6 separate regions of the Homo sapiens genome follow, and all the other regions are linked to region 6. The links are contacts of gene promoters, found by promoter capture Hi-C in blood cells and fetal thymus (Javierre and others, 2016). All regions are on one chromosome and are shown on one strand. The core of a region is centred on a gene start or on the middle of the fragment in contact, and the rest is flanking DNA. Distances in the headings are between cores, read along the strand shown.

The links. Contacts are between HindIII fragments. The CHiCAGO score rates a contact against its expected background, and 5 or more counts as called.
Region 1: a fragment that was not itself captured here is called in contact with the fragment with the promoter of EDRF1 in region 6 in 1 of 17 cell types (naive CD4 T cells); the score reaches 5.4 in naive CD4 T cells.
Region 2: a contact is called between a fragment that was not itself captured here and the fragment with the promoter of EDRF1 in region 6, in 1 of 17 cell types (total CD4 T cells). The highest score is 5.0, in total CD4 T cells.
Region 3: a contact is called between a fragment that was not itself captured here and the fragment with the promoter of EDRF1 in region 6, in 3 of 17 cell types (naive CD4 T cells, non-activated CD4 T cells and naive CD8 T cells). The highest score is 7.1, in naive CD4 T cells.
Region 4: a fragment that was not itself captured here is called in contact with the fragment with the promoter of EDRF1 in region 6 in 4 of 17 cell types (activated CD4 T cells, non-activated CD4 T cells, naive CD8 T cells and 1 more); the score reaches 10.8 in activated CD4 T cells.
Region 5: a fragment that was not itself captured here is called in contact with the fragment with the promoter of EDRF1 in region 6 in 1 of 17 cell types (activated CD4 T cells); the score reaches 5.3 in activated CD4 T cells.

What each region holds. Positions count from the first base shown.
Region 1 is chr10:128,133,337-128,136,952 of GRCh38, reverse strand. No RefSeq gene overlaps it. Among named protein-coding and RNA genes, the nearest start is that of MKI67, 8.7 kb to the right of the region's middle. The HindIII fragment of the contact is 242 bases long and covers 1,247-1,488 here.
Region 2 is chr10:122,959,695-122,963,402 of GRCh38, reverse strand. The region is part of intron 1 of LOC124902519 (a long non-coding RNA gene); the gene reads right to left. Among named protein-coding and RNA genes, the nearest start is that of C10orf88, 7.3 kb to the right of the region's middle. The HindIII fragment of the contact is 2,169 bases long and covers 613-2,781 here.
Region 3 is chr10:128,058,559-128,061,917 of GRCh38, reverse strand. PTPRE (protein tyrosine phosphatase receptor type E) reads right to left here. Exons shown (of 21, transcript NM_006504.6): 8 at 903-979; 9 at 203-239. It overlaps AS-PTPRE (lncRNA antisense to PTPRE protein-coding gene), which reads left to right. Exons shown (of 3, transcript NR_136150.1): 2 at 1,074-1,231. Among named protein-coding and RNA genes, the nearest start is that of AS-PTPRE, 2.2 kb to the left of the region's middle. The HindIII fragment of the contact is 2,124 bases long and covers 200-2,323 here.
Region 4 is chr10:128,210,623-128,214,099 of GRCh38, reverse strand. No RefSeq gene overlaps it. Among named protein-coding and RNA genes, the nearest start is that of LINC01163, 74 kb to the left of the region's middle. RefSeq lists silencers at 1,933-2,082, 3,412-3,477. The HindIII fragment of the contact is 1,932 bases long and covers 439-2,370 here.
Region 5 is chr10:128,186,456-128,190,129 of GRCh38, reverse strand. No RefSeq gene overlaps it. Among named protein-coding and RNA genes, the nearest start is that of MKI67, 62 kb to the right of the region's middle. The HindIII fragment of the contact is 5,504 bases long and covers 1-3,674 here.
Region 6 is chr10:125,717,886-125,721,513 of GRCh38, reverse strand. It overlaps EDRF1 (erythroid differentiation regulatory factor 1), which reads right to left and starts at 1,805. Exons shown (of 25, transcript NM_001202438.2): 1 at 1,599-1,805; 2 at 102-310. The coding sequence starts at 1,706. EDRF1-DT (EDRF1 divergent transcript) reads left to right here and starts at 2,021. Exons shown (of 5, transcript NR_033847.1): 1 at 2,021-2,092. RefSeq lists enhancers at 922-1,904, 2,020-2,099, 2,580-2,689. The HindIII fragment of the contact is 5,171 bases long and covers 1-2,603 here.

The DNA.
Region 1 (3,616 bases), core at 118-2,617, 2.4 Mb before region 6:
TTGTTTGTTAATATCCATTCTCAGAAGAGCACAAAGAAAGCAGCCAATAGCTGAAGATAGGGGCTTATCTGTAAACTTCGTAGTCTGATAATGGGGTGAGGATAGGGCATAATTCAGACAAAGCTTCTGTCTGCATTTCTTGATTCTAAAATGTTTTCAGCTCAAAAAATTTTATGCCACTGTGGTATAATTTGGATCCATTCAAAAAATGAGAAATTGGACTTAAATATCAAATTCAAGGATTTGAGTACAGATAACCAGGCCAAAGAGGTGATCTGGTCCTAAAAGAACTTACTTTGTGGAGAAGGCTGAATGTAAAACTCTGCATGAGTCTTATAGTTTCAATTATCAGGAAGCAAACACTCACGTAACTAAACCAAGTCATGAAATAGAACATTTCTTCCAGAGGCTTCTTCCATCCTGTCTTCTAACCGCGACTTCTTTCTCTCATCACAGAGTCTGTCACTGTGGCTTTTATAACATTATAAAAATACTTTGAGTTTTATTTTTATTTTTAAATTTATTTATTTATTTTTTGAGATGGAGTCTCGCTCTGTCACCCAGGCTGGAGTACAGTGGTGCAATCTCCGCTCACTGCAAGCTCCGCCTCCCGGATTCACGCCGTTCTCCTGCCTCAGCCTCCCGAGTAGCTGGGACTACAGGCGCACGCCACCATGCCCGGCTAATTTTTGTATTTTTAGTAGAGACGGGTTTTCACCATGTTAGCCAGGATGGTCTCGATCTCCTAACCTCGTGATACACCCACCTTGGCCTCCCAAAGTGTTGGGATTACAGGCGTGAGCCACCATGCCAGACCTTAAATATTTTTAAATTATTATTATTATTATTTGAGTCTCACTCTGTCACCCAGGCTGGAGTGCAGTGGCACGATCTTGGCTCACTGAAACTTCTTCCTCCTGGGTTCAAGCAGTTCTCCTGCCTCAGCCTTGTGGAGGAATAGTTAAATATTAAATGTGAACTCATTTGGTTGTGGACAGAAACAATGGTCACCAAGTCTCGGAACAGGTTGTGTGAGCCCCTTAAGGCGTTCATCCAGCACTGTTTCAAAGAAATCCCTATTTCAATCTATTCCTATACGTTAGTTATTGAAAAACAATAGATAATTGCAAAAACAAGTTGACCTTTTTGTGTTCCTTGAGCCCCGTCACGAAGGGCCCTCGTAACTGGACCTCATGCCAAACAACTCGTTACAAAAAGAGCTAGGGTCTCAGACCACGCAGAAGCTTCATGAGACCCCTCCTTGTCTGCATGGACAAGTGGTCGACTCTGGATCCCAAGATGTTGCTTCCCAGTTTGGTGGTGAATCCTCCATAGTCTGGTGAGTGTAAGTATCTTTTTCCCTTCTCTTCCCATTGCAATTTGCTTATTGTAACAATATCCTTATTATATTGATTTTCTTATTATATCATTTGCTTATTATGTCATTTCCTTATTATATCTGCATTGCCATTTACATGGGGTAAAGCTTGTTTACCCTTTAAAGTATTGTGTGTGTGCCATTTCTTCTCCCCTCATGCATTTCCTGCACAGAACATCAGCCTTCCCAGTAGCTGGGACTACAGATGCCCGCCACCACAGCTGGCTAATTTTTGTATTTTTAGTAGAGACGGGGTTTCACCATGTTGGCCAGGCTGGTCTCAAACTCCTGACCTCAAGTGATCCTCCTGCCTCAGCCTCCCAAACTGCTGGGATTACAGATGTGAGCCACTGTGCCCAGCCTGAGTTTTATTTTTAAACATGCATCTTTGAACACTATATTTTGTCTGACATTACTAAACTTCACAAAAATTAAATAATAAAGTATGTAATTATGTCCGATGTCTCTAGTCCTTATGAGAATCATAAAATATTGATTGTAGTTGTCATTTGTTTACATTAACTATTTGATTGAAATAATATACCTGCCTGGTGCAGTGGCATATGCCTGTCATCCCAACACTTTGGAAGGCCAAGGATAGGAGGATCACTTGAGGCCCAGGGCTCAAGACCAGCCTGGGCAACACAGTGAGACTCCATCTCTTCAAAAAATTTAAAAATTAGCCAGTCATGATGGTGTGTATTTGTGGTCCCAGCCACTCAGAGGCTGAGGTGGGAGGATCACTTGAGCCCGGGAGTTTGAGGTTGCAGTGGTCTATGATTGTGCCAATGCACTCCAACCTTGGCAACAGAGCAAGACCTTGTCTCTGAAAAAAAAGAAAGGAAGAAAAATAAATAATACACATAATTATACACAATTTTATCGTTCTGGATGGACATTTCAATAGCTTCTAGTTGTTGAAATGTGTTGGCATTTGCTTTGTGATCAGATATGGCTGCAATGTTTACTAATCTGTGTATTATGTGTTTGAAAAGAATGTGTGTTCTACAACTGTTGGTTGCAGTCTTCAATCTATATATGTCAATTAGATTCAAATCTATATTAGTTTTATTTATTTATTATTTCTATTTAGAAGGTACGAGTACTTTGTTTTCAACAAAATTTTTACAATGAATATCGTTCATTTGAAAACATAGCCTTTGTCTCACAAATCATAACCCTTTGTTATTTTTACTATTTGTTATTTTTACTATTTGTGACTGTGTTGCTGTGTGCTACATCTGTCTGTCTGCTGTGAGAGGGATAGTGGTATAAATAAGCCAGGCAACTTCCTGGGGTTTTAATATCCAAGGAACAGAAGGCTGGTCTGGGGTACAAGAAAAACGCTCTGACAGTTTCTCGGGATCGCGTGTCCTGCATATAATAGGTATGGAAATGTCAAATGCACATCTTTACTCTGGAAAGCAGAAGATATGTAGAAACCGGGCAGCTGCCTTATGGTGAGGAAAGCTGTTGCTATTATACCTGCCTGTCTTACTGACTTTATAATAATAGATTGTCCCAGTGTTAAGTAATTGGTTTTGACCACTATTTTGTGTTGTTAAGACGTACTTTCCTTCCAGGGGGCATAGCTGTTTCTGGAAACAACACACTGTAAGATGCTTTTCTTAAACCATTAATAGTCGAGGAAATGTTGCCACTTGAATCTCCATCTCAGTAAAAGTGGGAATTGACGTGGTGATGGTTGTACTGGATTAGAACCATGCCAGGCACCCAGGGTTTGATCTTCCTGGGTTGTATAAATCGAGCGGTTGTTTGTACTGCGATGCTTTGGGAGACTTTTTTATTTATTTATTTATTTAGTTAGTTAGTTAGTTAGTTAGTTATTGAGAAGCTTTGGGAAGCTTTGAGATTAAACTGCTGAAAAGGAATCTTGTTTGATTTCATGGCTGATGTTAAAATGGAAGAGTTGCTGTGCTTCTCATTGTAGCCCATGGAAGCTACTTACCAAACAGCCACATAAAGATAAACACATTTAGCTAAAAAGAAAGAAGAAAGAAAGAAAGAAAGAAAGAAAGAAAGAAAGAAAGAAAGAAAGAAAGAAAGAAAGAAAGAAGGAAAGAGAGAGAGAGAGAGAGAGAAAGAAAGAAGGAAAGAAAGAAAGAAAAGAAAGAAAGAAAGAAAGAGGAGGTAGCAAAGTTTTTCACAGAATGTCTCATCCAGCAAAATATTTTGAGTACATACGACCTGTTATGCACATCTACTGAGGCATTCATA
Region 2 (3,708 bases), core at 448-2,947, 2.8 Mb after region 6:
ACAAAACAAAATAGGCATGTGTATTTAACCTTCCCTTTCCTTTTTATACAAAGGTAGCATTACATAAATTTTTTTCACTTTACTTTTTTTTCCCCTTCATAAAGTATATCCTGAAAATCACTCTGTATCACTTCATAGAAATCTTCATTCTTTTTTGTGGCAGCATAGTACTCTATTGTGTGGACGTACAATATTTAATTCAACCACTCTCCTATGTCTGGACATTTAGGTTTCCAACATTTTAAAATGATTCTGAAATAAAAAATATTGAGTGTTTATATTTCTGTATTACTTAACCCATATCTTCAGGTTAAAATCTTAAGAAATAGGAGCAGAGTCAAAAGGCCAATGCATATGTAGTTTTGTTAGATATTGCCAAATTCCCCTCCATTAAAGATTATACCTGCTGATTGAAGCAATTTTCCATGTGCCCTTGGTGTCCCTTTGCCCTTAGTGTCCCTTTGCCCATAGTATGGCAATAATAAAATGCTGACTGCTCTTTACCTAAGTTATTTCTTAGGATTATGTTTCAATCAGCAATCTTGAAAGATGAAGTGCAGTGAGCAATTTTCAGAAATGAAATCATGTCTTCCTCCAGACAGAAAGCAAGCTTGCTTCTGTTTGCTACAAACGCAGTGGATCTTGCAAAAAAACAGTGTTCCTGTTTTGCAGTACAACTCCCTGAGTGTATAGGTACCCATCACTGGCCCCGTGTGTCATCACTGTGGGAGTAAAGGAATGGGAAATAGAAAAAGCCGACATGAAGCTGTGGTTATTGCTTTGCTGTGAGTAATAAAGTCCTTAGTCTCTGACCCAGGAGTCTTTTATCTTCTGCCACTAATCATGAAAGAGTAACAGCTTCTAGCTGATTAGCTTGTGAGTAAGCTAAGTATATAGGGTAAAATCTCAGAGCTTATATAGTTCATGACAGTTTTGGTGATGATGATGATGAAGACAGAATGCAGTTGCTTTCTAGAAAAGAAAGAACAAAAGGTCCTGAGGGCCAAGCTAGAAGATTCAAAACTACCCAAGACCTAGAAGCAAATGCTTTTGTCCAAGTCGTAGGTAGGTGAAGGGTAAAAGTCCACCAGCATGCTATCTGTTAAATTTATATTGGCTGAGTGGTAAGAGGCAGGATTGAAACAAGGTGCCTAAATGGCAACTTGGTTGTTGCTTCTTTGAGTGGGAAGAGGAAGGAATGTTATCAGGACAAAGGGACAGCAATCCCTATTTACCCCAGCTGATAGGCAATGTGGTTGTGGCTACTGTGCCATGGAGTGCCCAAAGCTCAAATAAGTGGTGTTATCAATGAAGATATACAGCTTGGGCAGAGGTAAAGCAGTTCATTTTGTGTGCCTGAGCAGGCAGTTGCTTGCTGCTTTTTTTTTTTTTTTTTTTTTTTTTTTCAGACACGGTTTCACTGTGTCACTCAGGCTGAAGTGCTGTGGAACGATCTTGGCTTACCACAACCTCCACCTGGGCTTAAGAGATCCTCCTAGCTGGGACCACAGGCACACACCACCATGCCGGCTAATTTTTGTATTTTTGGAGAGATGAGGTTTCACCATGTTGCACAGGCTGGTCTCCAACTCCTGGGTTCAAGCAATCTGCCTGGCTCAGCCTCCCAAAGTGATGGAACTACAGGTATGAGCCACCATGCCCAGCCTGAATCTTAAAGTAAATCTTGCTTCCTGGCACTGAGTGACTCTGCCCCTTTGTGCAGCCTTTTGCCTCTCCCTTTACCTAAACCTCAGCTGCTTTAAGGAAAAAATTGAGTATGCTAAGGAACTTTGCAGAGAAAAGGGATTCAAACTTTTATCACTCTGTTGGGTACAAGTACTCATGTTTGGACTAACCTGGTCTTTGGTGTCATTGCCATTAATTATAGGGGGCAATAAATGAGCCAAAAAGCAATCCTCATCCCCAGTGGAGATGAGGCCAACTTTCCTCACATACAAACATATAACCTGAAGGGGCACAGATCACTCCTATTAAAGATTTGTTGTTAAAGTTGATTTAAATCACAATTATATTAGATTGGTTAAGTCACATAGGCATTGTCACTGAATAAGTTCAGCTTCAGTTGTCATCACTCTGTCCCTTCTGATCCTCAGAGAAGCAATGATGTTGGTAGTAATGCTTCATGCTGGAATAGTCATTCTGCTTTGAACTCAGGGTAGGGCTACTTGACCCACCTCACCTTACTGGCTGTTCTTTCAGTGCTGTCACTTAGAGCCCTGGGCAATGCATGAGGTTCTTGCCTTACCTATTAGGTCTTCTGACTACCGCATACGCTGCAGGAAGTACCCAGCACCTACTTCCAATTTCAGCCTCAGCTAAATTTTCCCATGCTGTTCCTAAGACAGCTTTCAATTCACTTTGATCCAGATTCCTGTTCCAAACATGTTAATTGTCCTTAAGGGGAATTGTATTCATCCGGGAATAAGTGAGCAGAAACAGCAAGGTGACAGACAACTCTGAGTCTAAATACCCTGATATCTATAATGAATGACATCCTCAAAAGGACACTCAGACATCTTAGAAAATCTGAGATTCCACCTCTGCCATCCCCAGTATCTTTAGAAGAAGGCTTTCTCCTCTAGTTTCTTTCATAGTATTCTACCAACTCAGCAATTGGGTTCTGTAATTGGTAACAGAAATTGCTAACAGTCTAGCTGCCGAAGCCCAGATTTTCTTAATCACAGCAATGGCAAGTAAAACTCCACCCCTCACTACTTTTGCCCATCTTTTCCCTTCTTTACTAATTTATAGAGCTAAGCTTTCTGAAACTCTAGTTACAAAAAGAATTTCACCTTTAAAGATACCTTGGATGGCCAGGCACAGTGGCTCACGCCTGTAATCCAGGCACTGTGGAAGGCCCAGGTGGGTGGATCACTTGAGGCCAGGAGTTTGAGACCAGCCTGGGCAACATGGCAAAACCCCATCTCTACTAAAAATACAAAAATTAGCCAGGAATGGTAGTGCATGCCTGTAGCCCCAGCTACTCGGGAGGCTGAGGCACGAGAATCACTGGAACCCAGCAGGCAGAGGTTGCAATGAACCAAGATCGCGCCACTGCACTCTAGCCTGGGCGACAGAGCTAGACTCTGTTTAAAAAAAAAAAAAAATTACCTCGAACTGTTTCACCTTTGCTTTGCCAGCACGACTTATTCACAACCTCTGCAAAAATCTCACTTCTAGTTGCTGAGATGGTCTAAAACATGTTATTTATACCTTAGTAGACATTTAATAAATGTTTGTCCCCTTGGCCGCCAAAAATTCACGGGCCTGTGAAAATGAACTTTCCTATTTTACTCTCCAGTGAGGTATTGTTTACACCCATTTCAACAACTCCTCCTACAAAATACAGGTCCATATAAAATTTATAAGCCAATTGGCTCCTTTTTTTTAAAACTCAACATCAATGTCATTTTCAAGTCACCAGTCTGATCTTCTTATTGAATTTTTATAAAAACGTAATAAAGGTATCCTAAAATGTGAGCCAGATACTCAAACATTACTATATCTTTAACTAATCTGACAATATCTAGTGTTTATTTCCCCAAGATTACTCTGTTCCTGGTATTGTGAGGTTAAAAGCAATTATGAAATCCGCTGAAAGCGGGTAGACCTAGAAGAATCATCAATCTCAGTAACCCTAAGAACCACCAAAATGTCTGAGGAAAGAACAAAGCTACAAGATCCATC
Region 3 (3,359 bases), core at 12-2,511, 2.3 Mb before region 6:
CACACCATATAGGTGTGGGAATAAGTGTGTGTTTCTCTGACTACACATATCCGTTGTGTGAATGGATATCTAACGTGTCTGTTAGGTGTAAACACACACACACAAATCCAGTATAAGTCCTTGGTCTTGTTGGCATACAGAGAAGGAAATAAGAGCTATTCACGTTACCAAAAATACGTTGAGAAATTAATAAAAAGCTTACCTTGAGCTGCTATGAATTTATTCTTCTCTTTGTAACCCTAGAAAAAATAACATCAGATTTATATTTTTTCAGAATTATCTTTGCTGAAAGGATTTGTTGGTGTTGCTGTTAGGAAAGCAGTACATATTCACCATGGAAAATTTGCAAAACACAGGAAAAGGTTAAGAAGGAAAGAAAACTCACCAGCAATTCCAGAAATAACAAATCCTACTTCATACGTCCCCTCTCTAGTCTGTTTTTCTGCCAAACCTTTCCCAGACTCACCCACAAGCAGACATGCAGACATTTCTGTCCTCTAATTGGGTGAACATGTACAATTTATTTTATGTTGTATTTTTAATGGGAATTTTATAATTGATATTAAATGATCTTTTAAAGATTAATACAAATCAAGTTCTAATAGTCCACTGCACATGGTTTTACCACAATCTGTTTAACTACCCATGCTCCCTGTTCTATTTGGTCAGGAATATACATAATGCTGTAGTGAACATCCTCTGTGATCATCTCTGTCTCTTGAATTCAAATTCCCAGATGCTGATGCCAGTGTGTAAAGCACGGGCAGTTCCGTACCCTTTGTGCTTGTGGCCAAACTGCCCAGAAAGGTTGTGACAATTTACACTCCGGGCACCAGACAAGAAAGTGCTTACTGCTCATGCCCCAGCTGGGCCAGGGGAACAAGAAACCTCTGCCCACTTACATCTATGTAGGAAGCATTGATGTAGTCTGAACAGGGAATTCCATCCAGTTGGCTCAGAATCACCCTAGAATGGTCATCTGGAAAAAAAACCCAAACAAAGCCAAGATATTAGGACCAGGAATCACAGTGCTGTCTCTTCCAGAAATCACAGTGCTGTCTCTTCATCTGCAGTGTCAGCTCCTGGGAAGGGCAAAAGCAGCTTCACAGCGACACCAGGGATGGCAGAGATGTTCTTCCTCAGCGTTCCCATGGAGAACACTAGTGTCCTGAGAGAGAATGCACCTGCTTTGGTGAACACTGACTGTCTCAGCTGTGGCATGACGACAAGGGTAGGATTTCAGCATCCAGGATGGGGGCTGCTGGGTCATTACATAGCAAGAATAGCAGAATGTGCCAGGCCCCTGGCAGTGCAAGGGCTGTATTTTATGAACCCTGCACTGGGCCCAGCCCCAGTGTTGCCAAGTGTGGGTGCACTTAAAAGAGCCCCAGGACAGGAGAACTGGGTCCACTCTCCCAGGCTTCCCAGGGAAATGAGCACCAGCCCCATGAGGACAAGTGGATGTGGGGGTCTAGGATTGGGGACTCTGACCCTCAGTCCCACCACCGGAGTCTGCCCCAGAGCTGGAAGGCGAGCACAGTGAGGAGCGTCTGGTAGATCCAGCCTGTTGCACAAGCAGTTTTCCGGGGTAGAAGGCTGACCGTGGAGTGCTCTGTGTGTGGGGTGTGTGTGTAGTGAGTGTGGTGTGTGTGTATTGTGTGTGTGGTGTGTGTGGTTGTGTATGTGTGTAATGTGTGGTGTGTGTGTGGTGTGTATGGTGCATGTGTGTAGTGTGTGTGGTGTATGTGTGGTGTGCATGTGTGTAGTGTGTATGCTGTGTGAATGTGTGCATGTGGGTTTGGTGTGTATGTGTAGTGTGTGTGTGTGTGTGTGTGTAGTGTGTGGTATGTGTGTGGTGTGTATGTGTGTGGTATGTGTGTGATATGTTTGTGTGGAGTGTGTGGTGTGTGTGTGGAGTGTGTATGTGTGTGCGTTATGTGCGGTGGGTGTGTAGTGTGTGTGTTGTGTGTGTGTGTGTGCATGTAGTGTGTGTGTACACACACGTCAGGGCTCCATCATGACTTTTGTGGGTTGTAGTCACTTCTGCCTTTGCAGCTTCCTCCATAGAACTATTAAGAAGGTTATCTTAGGACTGGGTTGGTCGCCAGTGAAAAGATGCACTCCAGAATGGGTTTTGCACGTTTTGTTTGTGATTTGAAGAGAAATGAAGACATTTTCATGGGCTTCTAAAAGTGCTGTGGGCCTGGCCCTGCTCCTCCTGTAACCTTTCCCAGGAACGTCCGGCTCGGCCAGGCTGGGACCAGGCTGGTTCTGAGGACGTTTATGCTGCACTGGGCACAGAGTCTGGCATGTGGTAGAAGCTTAGGGTCTCCTTCCTGAGTCATTACTGAGTAACTCTAGGTCCTCTCCCTGCTTTCTCTGCTTAGTCTCTGATCAGGGTGGGTTGTGTTTGTGGTGTTTGTGGCGTTTGTGATGGGGAGCCGGGCAGCCCCCAGGTCATGCCTTGTTTGTCTCACCTTCACCTGGAAGGCTGCCAGGTGGGCCACGGGCTGGTGGCCTGCGACCTCCGATGGTTGAGCCAGCTCTGTCGGGCTGCCAGCAGAGAAAGGGCGGGTATAGCTCTGAGAGACAGTCACAGCCCACACAGGGTGGCCAGGGAGTCAGACCCCAAACTTACAGTCCTGCAGACCTCACTGTGAGACCCTCCTGCTCAGGGACTGGCAATGCCCAGGCAGAAATAGCTCTGCTGAACACATATAACACTAGTTGAAAATAATTTGGAATGGTTTACGCTTTGAGGACAGCTATAGAAAAGCACAGGGTAAAATATAGCCTTCTGCTTAGATTTAGAATCTTGCAGTTTCTAAGAGCTTCCTGTCTTTTTATTCTAAAAAGTCACACTTCACATTCAAAACATTATTTCCTAAAATTATCAGCTGTTGGCACTTTTCCAGAAAAGAGGCCTAGCTTGCCATCTTTCTATAGTCTTTCTACAGGCAAAAGTCAAGCCTGCCTGACATGCAAAGCACCTTGACCTCTGACCCCAGAGCTCCCCAGGGCCACATGCCTGCCCAGAGCCAAGGACCATCTTATGACTCTGGTAAAAGACTGGGAAAGGCAGGGAAGGTGCCAGGGGCTGGGGAAGTTGGGTCCCTTCTCTCCTCTCCCCCAGGTGACTCTCAGTCCCACCCTAAGTGATACTAGGGGCTGGGGAAGTTGGGCCCCTTCTCTCCTCTCCCCCAGGTGACTCTCAGTCCCACCCTAAGTGATACTATGGGCTGTCACCCTGGGGGCGGGTGGAGCAGCCCTGAGAGCTCCCTGCCCAATGTCCCTTCAGCCTTAAGTCTTCCTGATGGCTAATGCCAGATGCCACCCCATTGATCCTTGCCAGGCCACAG
Region 4 (3,477 bases), core at 155-2,654, 2.5 Mb before region 6:
ATGATCTTTTTGTTTGAGGCCATCTTTCAAAAACATTAGCTAAATGAATAAAAGGCAACCCATTAATATTTACCGGAAGCCGGGAACTGTACAAAGACCCGCAAGTCCATAATTATACTGCAATTTTAGGTGGGGGCCTGGGCAGCAGGTGGCCACTCTCCTCCACCACAGTGGCTTCCACTGCTGCCCCCTCCGCGGAAAGTGAGATAATGTCCACGTCCCTCCTCGAGGTCTAGGGGCAGCACACCTGACTACCTTGCTTTGTCTTCCAAGTGAATGTCAAACCTGCCCTGCCTGGGGGATGGTTGGTGGTGAATAGTCTGCATCCGATCAGAAATTGGCAGCCAGTCCCCACTGCAGGCTCCTAGAAGAGGTGGGGGGTGTTTGCAGGGGGCGAAGATCTGCTGGAATGTGGAGAAAGAAGGGGCCTGAGAAGCTTCTTCCTTGGTCCTCATGGAGCATGGAGCCAAGGCTCTGCCTAGCAGGGGTGACCGCAGCCTCGCCCGCATTTCTAGCAGAATGAACACAGTTCCAACGGCCTCCACCCCTAGGGAAGACACGAGTCTGATCATCTCTCTGTTGAGTTACGTGGGGTGGGGACAAGTCTCTGGACAGGTAGAACCACCAGCCTCTGGGCAATGGGAAGCGTTCCGGGCCCTGCATCCTTCTCCTCAGGTGCTTTCATATAGCAGGGATTCCATGACAGAATCCTGGGACAGGTTGGAAGTATTTTTGCCAAGATAAGTTGTGGAAATCAGCTGTGGGGCTGCACATTCTGGCAGCTCTCCTGACATGCTGCATTAATGCGTAAGTTTCCTTGCTCCCAGATTCCAGGCTGAATTTTAAAAGAATGAAATAAGTCTTCCCACTCTCCAACCGAACAACTCTGTCCCTGCTTGGAGGAAACAACACTGAAGACCGTGAATAGAGAGAAGGGTCACTCTGGCTAGCTCATTCTGTGACCCTCCCAGGAAGGGCTCCTAGTCTGCCCCATCCACCCACCGCCCGGTGGGGCCAATCCCAGAGCCGTCACTCCCAAGGCAGCAGCCTTCCATTCCTCTTATTTCCACCACTGCACGGAAAGGAGGCCAAGATCTAACCAATTCCTGGGAAGCTGCGCTGGTGTCTCCACAGCCGACACACAGCCTCCTTCTCAGGCAGTGGCTGCGTTTTCTTTCCCCGTTTGTTGTGCCTGTCTCCTGGGGCACCATAACTAAGTCCCACAAACTGGGTGGCTTAAAACAGAAATTCATTGTCTCACAGCTTAGGAGATAGAAGTCCAAAACCAAGGCGTCAGCAGGGCCTTGCTTCCTCTGAGGCCTCTAGGAGAGGACGCTTCCTGCCTCTTCCAGCTCCTGGTGGCACCAGGAGCTCCCTGTCTTGTGGCCACACGACTCCAGTCTCTTCCTCCACCGTCACACAGCGTTCTCCCTGTGTGTCTCTGTGTCTTTGCAGGGCTGTCTTTTTATCAGGGCACCAGCCATTGGGTTAAGGACCCAGGGACCCACTCTACTCCCGTATGACCTCATCGTAACTAATTAAATTTGCAAACAACCTGCTCAAAACAAGGTCCCGTTCTGAGGTGCTGGCTTAGGACTCGGACATATCTTTAGAGGGGTGGGAGGGGAGATGCAATTCAACCCACAGCAAAGCAGTGGGGCTCTGGCTTGAATGCAGCCTCTGTCATGAGCGACCTGATTCCACCTCGCACCCTCCACTGATGTGAGCCATCTCTCCCTGGATGCTAGTTACAGCCTCAAAGAACGCCCCTTGGGGCTGCAGACAGAACTCCGCCCTCATGGAAGAAGCTGCCGGCAAGTGCTGGGCAGAGGGACTAGCTGGGAGGAAATGAAAGCAATTCCTCCAAGATGCTGTCCTCGGGGAGCAGCCTGGCCACCCTGCCTGAAATTGCTGCCGCTGACACCTGCAAGCAAGAAGCTCCTCCGGCCGGGGCTGGCTCCGCCCACTTCTCAGGCCCCGCTGGGCCTCCCGCGGCCGCAGACGCGCGCCCTCTGGCGGCCCCGTCTGGACGCACACGGCCTTGTCCATAGCCCGGGCTAGATGAACTCCCAGCCCCGCCGGCTGGTGACACAGGTGGCACCTCTGCCATCGTGGAAAACCTGCAAACTGACTTTTCAAACTAGCCACCCCGTCCCTCTCAGGCAATACCAAACAGCTGGTAATTCATGCAGAGCAAACTACCACGTCTTAATAACGGAGAAGAGCCCCGGCTCCTAAACGGGACTGTGGAAGGCCGACTCCCTGGGCCGCAGCAGCAGAATTTTATTTCTCAGGACTTTCATGGGCTCTCAATCAGGCCACCGCAGCCACCTCATACATCTTAATAAACCTTACATCAGAGAGAAAGCTTTGAAACGAAATTGTCCAGTAATACGCACTTTCCAATCGAAACACATGGGAGTCTTTAAATATTTACCGCACATAAATAAAGCATGCTATGTAGCTGGCGCTTCTTAGCACCTACGCATGCCACGTATCAATGGACGCTGGATGTCAATATTGATGTATAAATAATAATATTAAGCACAGAAATACACCGCGCCGGGAGAGGTCTAATCGCACTGTCCCCTGGAAATAAACGTTTCTCAGGGCTGTTTCTGAAGGTGGGATATTTGTCTCCCTCCTCACTTGACCCTGAGGGGATGGAGGGCAAGGTGGAGAATGCCCTGAGCAGACACCGGTGCACCGCAGTGCACAGCCAGGGGTGCCACTCCTCCACCTCCGGAGAGACCGGGCGAGGCATCCGCAACCGCGTCAGAGCCTGGCAGCGGCCTGGCAGCATCCCCTGCCCTGGGCCTCGCTAAGGTTCCATGAGGGGTGCGTGGAGCTGGAGAAGAAAGGTGCGAATTCTGCGCTTCCCCGAGGTAGCCCCGGGCGAGCAGGGGGCCAGCTCCAGAGCCTCGGGCCACTGCGCCATTCCTCCCCCTGCGGGAGCTGCTGCTCCAAGGCTGTCCCTGCTGCTCCCGGGGGAAAGGGCAGGGCCGCCGCGGTGGGCGCTGAGCAGGTGGGCTCCAGTCGCCCCTGACTCCCAGGCTGCGCTCCCTGCCAGGCCCGGAGGATGCGCCCGGGGGAGGCGCCCTGGAGGCCGCGCGGGCACCGGAAGCCTGGGGGTGGGCCCCACCCGCGGACAGGTCCTGCTCTTCAGGCTGAGAGTGTGGGCATCACCCGCGAAGACGCCCCGTGGGACAGCAGGGGCGCTGTTCACCCCACCTGTGGGATCGCAGCGGGGGTTGGAGGGAAGGGGGCGTCAGAGATCCCCGGGGCCCCAGGGGTGCCCGGGGCCCCGCGGGAACGCGCAACGCGGCGGGGCGGAGGTGGGGCGTGGCCGGGACAGGCAGGGGCCGCAGGAACTCGCCCCTTCCTCAGCAGTTTAGCCCGCGGAGAAGCGGCACCGCGCCCCCCACTGACGAGGAAACGGGGGCGCCTAAAGGCCCCGGGGTGCTCGCAGAGAAGCGC
Region 5 (3,674 bases), core at 557-3,056, 2.5 Mb before region 6:
ATGACACACGTTAACCCATGTAACAAACCTGTACATACTGCACATATACTCCAGAACTTAAAATAAAAGTTGAAAGGGGCCGGATACGGTGGCTCATGCCTGTAATCCTAGCACTTTGGGAGGCCGAGGTGGGCAGAACACCTGAGGCCAGGAGCTCGAGACCATCCTGGCCAACATGGTGAAAACCCATCTCTACTAAAAATACAAAAATTAGCTGGGCGTGGTGGTGCACGCCTGTAGTCCCAGCTACTGGGGAGGCTGAGGCATGAGAATCACTTGAACCCAGGAAGTGGAGGTTGCAGTGAGCTGAGATCGTGCCACTGCACTCCAGCCTGGAGGCAGAGTGAGACTCTATCTCCAAAAGAAAAAAAAAAAAAAGTTGAAGGGAAAAAAAGTGCACTCTTGTGATGTTTGCACAGTAATGAAATCACCTACTGATACATTCTCAGAATGTGTCCCTGTTGTTAAGCAACACATGACTATATATATATAATATCAATATAGATATAGATATCACTCTATGTGTGAATACCAAATATTAATAGTAGTTATCAGTGCATAATGGACCTAGACATGTTGTTCTTGTTTTTCTTTCTACATTTTGTATTCTACAATAAAGATGTAGGACTTTTATAATAAGGCATTGTTTTCCTAAGCAGTTGAATTGGATGCAAGAGCAGGTGACAATCCTGTCACTCCCTGTTCCTGGCAGCCACCTCCACCGCACTTCACCAGATTCTTGACAGTGTCTCCTCAACATCTCCTGATCTCATCTCTTTCTCTCCACCCTCGCCTCCCTGCTCCACTCCAAGCCGGCATTGTCTCTTGCCAATACTATTACAACATGACATCGTCCCCTCTTTCCCACCATCTGACACCCACCCTGAAGCTAGAGTGATCCTCTAAGTAAAAACCACATGATGTGCCCCTCTCTTTCTTACCCCACTTGAGATCCTTTCATGGTCTCACTTTGCTAAGAAATAAAGTACAAAGTCTTTAGTGTGAGCTGAGGAGTCCTCCAGGATCTGACCCCAGGGCACCTCTAAGACCTCATCTCATGGGGGTGGTTAAAGGTGCATCCTCCAGAGTCTGAGGGCATAGGTTCAAGTCCTAGTTTTGCTGCTCACTCCACTTCCCCCTGCCCAGGTATTTCCATGTGTCCCCACCTGCCTTCTGCAGAGCTCTGGGGGCGCTGCCTAACACCCAGGAGCACTCAGCAAATGTTCGCTGTCACTGTCAATGTGTGAGCACCTTGCATATTGATTATTGCTGGGAAAGGAAAAGGGACAACTGAAATGATTCTTGGCTTTCTGATTGCATCATTAGCTGGAAAGCAGAGCTGTTACCAACAAAATTCCCCAAAGGAAACAGGTTTGATGAGTTCAGCTTTAGACTTCCTAAAGCACCTGGGGGGACAGAACTGGGGCTCAGGAAGGACATTCAGCTCAGAGATGGTCTCAAGTTGCCAGCTGACCAGTGGTTGTAAAAGCTGTGGTGTGGGCAAGATGATCCAAGGGAAATAGATGGGTGGGGTGAACAGAACCTCGGAGAACCAACATTCAAAGAAACTGGTGAAAAAAAAGAAACCCAAGAAAGAGGCCAGAGAAACTGGCCTGAAAGGGTTAAAAAAAAAAAAAAAGGCAAGGCTAGCACTTCAGAAGCAAGACAAAGAAGGGTGCCAAGGGGAGGGGGTGGCTGAAGAGCCAGGCACTTAGGTCTCACCAGTCCAGGAGCATCCATGTGTTGGGTGTAACAGGCTGGCAGTCACCAGAGCTCTCTCTTCTCAACGTTGGAATCCTCATGAGGTGGAAATGAGCACACACATCTAAGTATTTTTCTTGTCACATAGCTGGGATGCTTTGTTTTTTGGGTTTTTTTGTTGGGGGCAGTGGTTCTTGCTTAAATCTCACCTCTCTTATAAGACTCCTCCCAGCCATCCTTCTAAATAGACTACCTGTGGCCCCTCCATCCCTGGCATCCTTGATCCCTTGCTCAGTTCTGCTGTCCCTTCTTTCTACACCACGTTCACCTTCTAACCTGCTGCATGATTGACTGATTCCAGTCCTCATTTGTCTTCTGAGTCTGAGCTAGCTACAGGAGAGGAGGATGCTTTATTCGTTTGTTCGCTGACATAGTTTAAGCACTTAGAACAAGGTTGGTACCTCGTGGATGTACAATAAATATTTGTGGTCAAAACAGTTTTGATATACTACAGACCCACAACCAGGTCTCTTAGGAGTTGGCTGGGAAGACAGCCTATTACCCAAAACTTTTCCTGTTTGGAAAAACTCTCTGAAAACACCTCCAGGACCAGTCCTCTTCTCTTCTAAGCAATACTGATGAGAACAAATGCCTCTTTCATTTTCATTTGAGGCAGCTGCAGCTGCCTCGCCCCTGCTCCCGGATACACTTGGGCTTGAGGCGTGAATCTCTACAAAGCCCTGGTGGGGAGGAACCCGAGACTGTCCCCAGACAGCGACCTCCTGTGCAGCTGCCGTAATGAAGGAACAGACCTGAAAGGCAGAACCCACTGGGCTCGCTGCCCCCGAAACAGGGCGCAGAGGAGAGGGCTCCTCCCCATCTCCCTCAGCTGCACCTCGTCTTCTCTCAACATCAAAAACAGCTCTCCAACGATTTTTTTTAATGGAACAGAAAAACTGTTCTTTATCAAGATAGAGCAGGGCAGCCATGTGCTTTTCATAAAACTGATTACAGAGACCAGATGAAAGAAGTTGACGGGGTCAAGCTGCATTTTGCCTTCCCCCGTGTTCTAGGATGGGGAAATGTTTTTCATTATATTCGTTAAAAGTTCACCACCATCTGATAAGAATCTTGAGAAAGGGCATGCGTGTTGCTAAATTAGCCCTAAAAGGGGACAACTTAAAGTAAAATAAATCTGACTTAAACATGAGCTCAAGTTACCCACCTCGGACTTCCAGAAGGGATGGTTGCTAGGAAGCATTTGAAAGGGGCTCATCCAGCCAGCCACAGTGGCACCCAAGGACTAGGAAGCATGGCAGTCTCACCATAATTATAATAACTGGAACACATTGGCCGGGCATGGTGGCTCATGCCTGGAATCCCAGCACTTTGGGAGGCCAAAGCTGGAGGATCACTTGAGGCCAGGAGTTTAAAACCAGCTTGGGCAACATAGCCAGACTCCCATTTCTACAAAAAAAAAAAAAAATTAACTTTGCCAGCTGTGGTGGCATGCACTTATAGACCCAGCTACTGAGGAGGCTCAGATGGGAAGATCACTTGAGCCTTGTAGTTTGTGGCTGCGGTAAACTCTGATTACAGCATTGCACTCCAGCCTGGGTCACAGAGCAAGACCCTGTCATATAAAATAAAATAAAATAAAATAAAATAAAATAAAATAAAATACACACTCACATTTGCTTTTGTACATTTACAAGCTGTAAAGGCCTTTCACATTGACTTATGAATTATAAACCCTCTCATAGATTTTAAACCCTAGCTAGTTGTTTTTGCCATTACTCTATTAGTCAGTCATATATTCATTCAACACATACAAACTGAGGGCCAGGCCTCTGCTCATAAAAAGACACAGTGCCTGCTTTATGAAACAAGGTCCATCTGTGGCATAAAAACAAAACAAAACAGATAGTTTAGAAACAAATTTTTCTAATTGTTTAAAAAATCATCCAGAACTT
Region 6 (3,628 bases), core at 556-3,055:
TCTCGACAAGTTAATAGGCATTACAAACTGAATTTAAAAGCAAATAAGAGTTTTAAGTGAGGGTGGAGGGGCAGGTAAAAATGCCACTGATTAATATTTACCTTGAAAATGGCTTGCTTTTCTTGCTGTTGCCAAGAATGGTAGTTCCTGCTGGCCCTAGTTTGGCACTCTCTCGTAACCAGTTGGCAGGTGGGAGTTTCAAGTCTGTTTTCTCTTCAAGGCGTGCAAATGCTGTTCGAGGAGGGGCAGAAGAGTATTTCACCACAGCTCGGCTCTTCACTTCATTGCCTCCAAGAAATAAAGCTGATCCCTAATTAACACATTGGGTGAAACTTTAATGAAAATTACTAAGAACGAAAAATCTCACCTTTATAAAAAGAAAACAAGAACCTGTCACACCAGGCTTCACAAGGAACGTATGCCACATGTTACTAACAGCACTTAATAAATTTGAGCATAAATGGTAACATTTACTTAGTTCTTTTACACCAACTTCAAAGAAAAAAGATGAGTCAAGGAGTATGATGGTTATGGTTATCAGCTAGAAAATGGACCACCCACATCTCTTTTAAAATGTATTCATGTAAAGTGGAGAAGCAGAAACCAAGGAGACTCAATGGTATCATGTTAACTAGATGCAAACTTTAGTAAAGCCTATTTTCAGTATTAAAGATGTATTTTAATTCTTTTTTTTTTTTTTTTTGAGACGCAGTCTTGCTTTGTCGCCCAGGCTAGGGTGCAGTGGAGCAATCATGGCTCACTGCAACCTCGGCTTCTGGGGTTTACGCCATTCTCCTGCCTCAGCCTCCCTAGTAGCTGGAATTACAGGCGTGCACTACCACGTCCGGCTAATTTTTGTATTTTTAGTAGAGACAGGGTTTTGCCATGTTGGCCAGGCTGGTCTCGAACTCCCCGACCTCAGGTGATCCACCCACCTCGGCCTCCCAAAGTGCTAGGATTACAGGCGTGAGCCACCGCGCCCGGCCAAAGATGTATTTTAATTTTAATAACACATCATTCATAAAATAGTCTGGTAGAACATTTGGGCTTTTTGTTTTAATGCAAATATTTAGTAATCGATGCATCGGTTCATGCATGCATGCATGGTTCAAATACTCTTGAGTCTCTAACTTCATAGAAAGGCATTGGGGGTTCGTTCCTCACAGCCTGCACTTGCACACTCCCAAAGCAAGTTCGGCGTCTGGGTTCAATATTCTAACCTTTCACGCAGTACCTCTTCTGCATGGCAAACATTTTACACCCTTTGTGAATTAGTTCGGTCTCATTCTCGGCGAGTCACTACCTGGCACCGTTTCTTCCCTCCTGCTTTGCACGACTGTGCCACGTTTTGGAACGACATATTTACATGTACCCTCCTTGAGAGGAAAGATCGTATCTAATTCACCTGTCGGCTACCAGAACTGCTTTTAATACGAATACCTGCCGACTGGAGCATGGACTTCAACTCCCTGTTTTGGGGGTGTCAGGGAAACATGGAGAAGCCTCCAGAATCTGCCGGGAACCGTGGCATCCCTCCCCGGTGGAGCGGGTCCTCCGCTCCCACATCCCTGGCAGGTCCCCCTCCGCGGAGGACTCACCTGTGCAGAAGATTCCTCGGATTCTCCCTGGGACAGGAGGCTGAGCCCTCCTCGAGCGGCGGCCCCGGCCGGCGGACCCTCGGCTCCGGCCTCCTTGGCATCCCCCATCACTTCGATCCAGGGCAGGCGATACGACGGGGGAGCGGAGGAGCAGCAGCAGCAACGCAGGCCCAAAGCAGGGTAAGCGCCAGAGACGCTCCGCGGACCGCACTTCCGGTCTCTGCCAGGAAGAAGTAGCTGTGACTCGCCATTAAATCTCGCGATCTTTGTCCCGAAGGCCCGGCCCCGCCTCCCGCTGCGGGTGCCACCTTCGCGGCCAGGGCGGGAATTGTAGTGCGCCTGCGCTTGTCCGAACCTCTTCGGGAGACTACTTCTCGCGGTATCTGACTCCTAGGCTCCGCCCTCTGCACGCCGCTCACGGTATCTGACGCTCAGGCTCCGCCCCCTGCATGTCTTTGTTGGCAAACAGTTCTGGGGGTCGTCCGATCCTGCAGGTAGTGTCCGCGTGGGAGGGGAGGTGCAGCCGTCAGCGCTGCCGGCGGCTCCCGTTACGTGAATTAGTGAGAGGTTCAAACTTCTTCCCCAGGCTTCAGTGTCACATCTTTTCACACGGGCACCCCGAGGGCCCGGACTGGAAAGGCGAGCCAGCCATCTCGAGACTGGGCGCTCCTGCCCGCCTTTTAGTGCCCATGTGGCCCCATCCTGGGTGTGGGAGCGGCGGGGCTTCCGGGGAGGGCGCTGGGACGCGCGGACGAGGCCCTCCCCGTTTAGGGAATGGGTGGCTTTCGGAGTCTTCTGGGGGCCCGGCATGCCCGCTGCTTGCGGGGCGTCCCAGGTGGTGCAGGACCCGTGAGACGCTGAACCTGGGGCCTCGTAACGCCTAGGTTTCCATTCGGGCGCTCTGGATGGGTCCGAGACTCGGCATTTCTCACAGGTTCCCAGGAAACGATGCCAGCGCTTTGAGTAGCGAAGAGGTGGAGAAATAGCCCGGGCCGTTTGCAAGCTTTGAAGGTCCAGGCTCTCTTTCACACTCCTCAGTGTCATCTCAAACTGTCAAACGCAGCCACATCCGTTATACAATACATGTTTTGTAGTAAAAGTGTTTTGTTGTGCCGTAAGATACAGAAAGTGTTTTTAAAAATTAACTTGGCTCTTGCAATTTGGCTGTCTCAATTTGTAATTCACGTTTGGCTCTTACAACTCACTGTCCTGTCCGTTTTCAGGAATGCTCCTGATGAGTAAGCATTCAACTCACAAATTGCTTTCAAATGTAACAAAACAATTTTATGAATTAAATTTAACAGGCCGGGCGCGGTGGCTCACGCCTTTAATCCCTGCACTTTGGGAGGCCGAGGTGGGCAGATTGCCTGAGGTCAGGAGATCGAGACCAGCCTGACGAACAGGGTGAAACCCCATCTCTACTAAAAATACAAAAATTAGCCAGATGTGGTGGTGGGCGCCTGTAATCCCAGCTACTAGGGAGGCTGAGGCAGGAGAATCGCTTGAACCTGGGAGGCAGAGGTTGCAGTGAGCAGAGATGGCAACACTGCGCTCCAGCCTGGGCGATAGTGAGACTCTGTCTTAAAAAAATAATAATAGTGAATTAAATTTAACAGTTAATTTGATATAATAGTGTATTTTGTAGACATTTACTTCAACATGTATTGATTTTGATTTTTATCATTTCATTTGAATATTGCAGCCAATAATTCTTTTTTGGTTTTTGCAAGTTATGCATTGTTTTTTATGGTGAAAAGTTGAACATAATATCTAACACTAGGAGGAGGATAGTCAAATTTGGTTTTGGTAGAAAATAAACCCTGTGCAACCATAAACTTGTTTTTCAGGAATATTTAAGAACATTTAAATTGCATATCATATAATGTTAAGTGATAAGTGAAATTTTAAAAAGCCAATATGCAGCCTAGCGCGGTGGCTCACGCCTGTAATCCCAGCACTTTGGGAGGCAGATGCGGGTGGATCACGAGGTCAGGAGATCGAGACCATCCTGGCTAACACGGTGAAACCCC